2 separate regions of the Homo sapiens genome follow, and region 1 is linked to region 2. Evidence: promoter capture Hi-C in 16 types of primary human blood cells and fetal thymus (Javierre and others, 2016). All regions are on one chromosome and are shown on one strand. The core of a region is centred on a gene start or on the middle of the fragment in contact, and the rest is flanking DNA. Distances in the headings are between cores, read along the strand shown.

Region 1 (2,700 bases), core at 50-2,549, 2.1 Mb after region 2:
GGGCAACAAACAACTGTATACCTAGAGCTTACTCAAGCACACAATAAATCTTTTTTGGTATTAAGGATGATGAACAAGAAAAACATTTAGACATATAAAGCTAAACTTGCTCAAAATTATTTCTTTTTTTTTTCTCTTCAATTTACCTGGCCCCATTTTCTATGATCTAAGTATTCATAAAAACTTCATTAAAAAAACAAAAAACTTTCTCATACTACAATTTATTGATCAATAAACAAGTCTACGGTTATTGGCAACTTTCACTGACTTTAAATATCTGACACTTTGGGGATTTTTTTTTTCTTTTTTCAATCTTATAATGACTGAGAAAGGTAATATCTTTTTTCAAATGTTTCATTTATTTTCTGAAGTATACTGCACTCTAATTTAGCGGGGTCTTCTTTAAAAAAAAAATCGTGTCCTAAGAGAAAGCTTCAGAACCAGAAAATGCCGTTCTAGTAGCTGTGCGTTACTATAAGGGTCCATTAAAATTCCTTGTGTCTAACTTATTCTTGCTGATGAGCCAGTTTCCTAACCCCAAAGGTAAAGATCAAATGTTAAGTCGCCAAACCTTAACCACGTTCTACTGCCTTAACCGTGGCACAAGGTTCAGATTAAGAAATCGCCTTTGACCCAGAAGTTCCAGTTCCAGGACCTTTAACAATAATGACACATACATTTACCTTTGTAACTCACTGTTACCAGATTAACGACCATTACTAGCGTGCTTTGGGTGCAACCACCCACTCTTCAAATTCCGCTTCTGAAGAAACTAAGATCCAGGGCCAGTAGGGAAACAGAAACCGGAGTCGGGCTTTGGAAAACATAGCAGCGTCCATAACCACGCTCAGTCAATAACACTAAAACACTCGACCACTGAGATGCCACCTGTACACACCCACCCCTAGTCCACTACTTTCTCTAGCCTACCATCCAAACTTGAATCTGACTCAAACTTAAGGAAATTCCAAAGATCTGGGACAAATGGTGTGTTTCCACTCGACATGGACCCCAAAGATCCCCTCTAGACATCCTGTTTTTTGGACCAAATGCCAGGAACATAAGACAGGTTCGATTTCCTCCCGCGCCCCAGCGCTCCCGGTTCTAGGGCCCCGAACTTCGAACCTCAGCCCTCTTCTTACCCAGGCCTGCACGCCTCATCCTGCCAGAGGAGAGAGAGAAAAGGCGGGTGCGGGGCTTTGGGTGAGTAGGAAACAGCTAGGGGCGACCCGGACCGCGTCTTCAGTACCAGGGCCCAGCGAAACACCAACTTCTTCCCCTAAAGCGCCACGACATCAGTGGAGTCTAAACACCGCGCCGGATGATGGCGTCACCACGGCGCTCATTGGAGCCCTGGGAAGAAGGTTGAAAGGCATTCTGGGAAATGTAGTTCACCAACGCATAACGTGTTGCTGAGGGCGTGATGTGAACCCGGTTCCAGGAGCGGACGGGGCGTCCGGAAAAGGGGGCGGCTTCGACTGCGGCTCTGATTCTGGGTCTCTGATCCAACGTTCCCGCTGTTCCGCTCGCAGCCCGCGGGTCGCTGCTTTCAGTTTGTTGACCACCAAGTTTAACCCAGCAGATCTGCTCCTCCCCACCCACAAGAGGATGGTTGGGGTATCTTTCCTGATTTAGCCTCGAACTCCCTCTCACCTCCAGAGACGATTCAGGGAAAGTTAGAGAAAACTTTGTCCAGGTTTCTCAGTTTACAAACAAGTAATCCGACACCCACAGAAGTAACCGATTTGTGCCTTGTAGTATCCAGTAAAGGAAAGAAAACCAGGTTCCTTTGAGTAGGACTCCTGCTCAGATGAGAGCAGACTAGGAAAGGCTGCGGGATCTGGTCAGAGGCACTGAATAGTTAGTTCCCTGTTACTGCATCTGTTGTACTTCTAGAAAGAACCAAGACTTTTAGTTGTTATGGGGACCAAAGGACCCCTAAACGCTCTCCCACTTTTTTTTTTTTAACTTACACAAAGCTTATTGAAATACTGCTTACACAAGGCAGTGTGCCAATTAGGGGTTTAAAACTTGTTGGCGAGTTGGAGGTGTTACTGGTATCGAGGTTAATCCTAGAATTTCATTTTATCTCAGAGGATTTATCGTGAGAATACGATGAAATCGTGGTTTTTGAAGGGAAAACAAAAAAACCTGATACACAGTAGGTGATCAAAATTCACTGGGTGTCTGCGGTTTTGTTGTTGCTGCTGTATATATGGCAGTGGAATCGTCTCCACACTAGAGATTTCCGAATATGTGATCTTTGATCATTTAGCGTTTCCTCATAGTTTCCCAGGACATTATTAACATTGACTATAATACTGGCATAAGTCTCTGCGTTAAGTTGCTTTTGTAAAAAACACATGAAAACAATTTTTAATAAGAGTTATTAACCTGGGAAGGAGGCTTTATCCAATAGTGTTTTGATAGAAAAAAATCATTAAAATAAAACCGCCATTTTCTAAAAGCAATGAAATTAAATAAGCATAATATCAGGGACAATTATTACAAATAAAAGATGGAGATTCAATAAAAGAAATGATAGCTAGGTATCCCTTTATAACTTAAAATCTGTGACAGTCCTTTGGTTAAAAAAATGCATGTTCTATAATTAAAACGTTTAAAAATTGCCTTACAGAAGGCTTGCTGATGGAAATGTAGAAATCGTTATTTTTGAAAATATGGTAATATTTACTAGAA
Region 2 (2,740 bases), core at 70-2,569:
AAAGGCGGGGAGGGGGACGTTAATATATACAGAGGGGGAAAGTGGAATGACACTTATTTCTGAAAGATTATTAGAGGCTATGTACTACTTCTGAAATACTGGGACTTTATTTAATGAATATGTGTTACTTTGCAGTCAGATGAAAAAATTTAAACAAGTAAAACTGGCCTTTGGTGTGAAAAACAATGGAAAATACAAATTATCTTTATCTATTTTTCGGTTTCTAGTACCAAAAAAGTCACACTTCAAAATTCTCCATGATGCTTTACTCTTAGCAACGGATCTCCATTCAAAATACTCATAATATCTAGTAGGGTAAATGAACATCTAAATAGCCTAATACAAGAAAGTTAGCAACTTTCCTCACGTACAAATTTCAAAAATGGTACCTATTCAAAAATTGACTTCGATCTATTTCTCAAATTGACTTTTTAATTAACCAAAACCATTATCCAAAGGGCTAATGTTCAAACTTAACAAACACTGAAAATTTCTATGCTTGTAGTATGAGGGGTCTAAAAAAAGATTTACGTTCGCCTCTGCCCCACAACTGGCCTGTTAAAAAGGCTGTTAATGGAAATAACTAATCACTGGCCCTAAAATACCACATTCCAGCTGGTCTTCTTTTGATACAGCAAGCTAAGTTTGGAGATCTTTACATGCATTTCTCACCTTGTTTGTCCTAAGGAAAGGCTCTGCATCCCTCCAGAAAGGCTGGAGAACAGCTATCTCTGGAAATGACACACACACACAAAAAAAAGGCAAAATATTTCAGGCCTTCCTAATACAAAATAAGAGATCGATCCCAGCTAACGTTCTCGTTGCATTATGTTCTCGTGAGATGCATTACCTCTTGCAAACAACATTTCTCAGACATACAGAAAAGAAAACGGCAAGTACATGCCTACATATGATGGGAAAAGGTAGCGGAATCACGAATACGTTTTGTACCAAAGCTAAGTGCTTCATATATATTGTCTCGCTTTACTCCCCACAACAATTTAAAAGGTAGGCATAAGCCTTAAAATTACAAAATCTGAAACAGCGCCGAGCTCCCATACTAGCCTGCCTTCGCTAGCTGAAGCATTAGGGTTCGAACCCAGGTGGGTCTTTCTTAACTCAAAACCAAGGTAATTCCACACCGAAGGCTCTTTCCATCCCTCTTCCTCCTCCAAAGACAAATCTGCAAAGGGCTGCACTGTACAGCAGTCACCCACACCCACTTCTTAACAAAAAGAAAGGAAAGCACAGCCTCACCACCTTCCCAATCTCACCCTGAACTGCACCCATCCACTGTAGTTCGCTTTTACTTCCGCCTCTGGGGTCCGGAGCGGCTAGGAGGAGCGGAAGTGGAAAAGACTAACTTCCGGCCTCGGGTCGCGCGCAGAGGTGATGTCGTTGGTCCTGCGCCCCCTCGTGGCGGTACTTCAGCCCTTCGCAGCCCGACGCTAGGGGCCTGGCAGGGGGCAGCAAGAGACCGCGGTGAGCGCGGGGTATTGAACGCCAAAGAAGGGGTTTGGAGGGTGGGGTGGGGCCTGGGACTCCCAGTCGCCTGGGCAGATGTCCGTGGGGAACTGTAAGGCATCTTATAGGGATCCTACAGGGGGCATCCACTGCCGGCCGACGACACGTGGTGGAAAAGTAGCTATTATTTACATGCGTGTTGCAGTTTTTGATAATGCGATTGCTGCTGCTAATGTGACTAACGCGATGCCGATGAACATCTCGGCGTTTTTTGGTGCAGGATAAGCGGGTGTAGACTCTGTCTGTTTAGTCCCAGATTCTCCTCCTTTAATGAACTACCGTGGAAATCCTGGAGTGTCACTGCTGGTCTGAATTCAGCATCCGCCTTCAGGCTGGAAATCAATTCTAGTATACTTCGATTTCCTTACTTGCAGTTCGAATTCAAATATGATTCTTTTGACATTGTGAGGGTTTGCGCTATTTAAAGAATGGAGGCAACCGAAACCTCATCTCCACAGTGGATGCATTTTTGCTCCCTCCCGAGGCGTTGCCTTAAGCCACGCGGTCCTGTCAGCCTCACCTGCCTAGTGATGGTGACAATGGAAGAGATAAAGCTTCAATTCAAGGCACTTCTCCTGTGACCATCAAAAGAAAGATAATATCTACATTAATGAATTAATTGTGTCTGTCGAGTTATCCTCAGGAGACGATGGTGATTTGGTCCTTAAAAAAACACAGGATCAACAGGATTGACCCTGAATTCTACAAAGAGGAAAAATTTCAGGCATTACTAACTCCTCCATGTACAAGCCTAATGATGTAATTTTCTGGCCGGGCGCGATGGCTCATGCCTGTAATCCCAGCACTTTGGGAGGCCAAGGCGGGAGGATGGCTTGAGGCCAGGAGTTCGAGACCAGCCTGGCCAACATGGTGAAACCCCATCTCTACAAAAAGTACAAACATTAGCCAGGCGTGGTCACAGGTGCCTGTAGTCCCAGCTACTTGGGAGGCTAAGGTGGGAGAATCACCTGAGCCTGGGAGGTTGAGGCTGCAGTGAGCCGTGATTGTGCCACTACACTCTAGCCTGGGTGACACAGTGAACCTTGTCTCAAGAAAGAAAAAGAATTTTCTTTATCCCATTTCTTTCTCCTTTTTCTTTTTTTTTTTTTTTTTTCCTTTAGACGGAGTCTCACTCTGTTGCCAGGCTGGAGTGCAATGGCGCGATCTCGGCTCACTACAACCTCTGCCTCCCGGGTTCAAGCGATTCCCCTGCCTC

Evidence for each region. Contacts are between HindIII fragments. The CHiCAGO score rates a contact against its expected background, and 5 or more counts as called.
Region 1: the fragment with the promoter of BET1 here is called in contact with the fragment with the promoter of MTERF1 in region 2 in 4 of 17 cell types (total CD8 T cells, naive CD8 T cells, non-activated CD4 T cells and 1 more); the score reaches 9.7 in total CD8 T cells.

What each region holds. Positions count from the first base shown.
Region 1 is chr7:94,003,056-94,005,755 of GRCh38, forward strand. BET1 (Bet1 golgi vesicular membrane trafficking protein) reads right to left here and starts at 1,300. Exons shown (of 4, transcript NM_005868.6): 1 at 1,143-1,300. The coding sequence starts at 1,161. RefSeq lists enhancers at 510-1,116, 1,117-1,722, 1,177-1,226, 1,237-1,866. The HindIII fragment of the contact is 1,547 bases long and covers 431-1,977 here.
Region 2 is chr7:91,879,383-91,882,122 of GRCh38, forward strand. It overlaps MTERF1 (mitochondrial transcription termination factor 1), which reads right to left and starts at 1,320. Exons shown (of 3, transcript NM_006980.5): 1 at 1,275-1,320; 2 at 673-731. The coding sequence starts at 701. LOC112267986 (a long non-coding RNA gene) reads left to right here and starts at 1,420. Exons shown (of 2, transcript XR_002956514.2): 1 at 1,420-1,482. The HindIII fragment of the contact is 3,297 bases long and covers 1-2,076 here.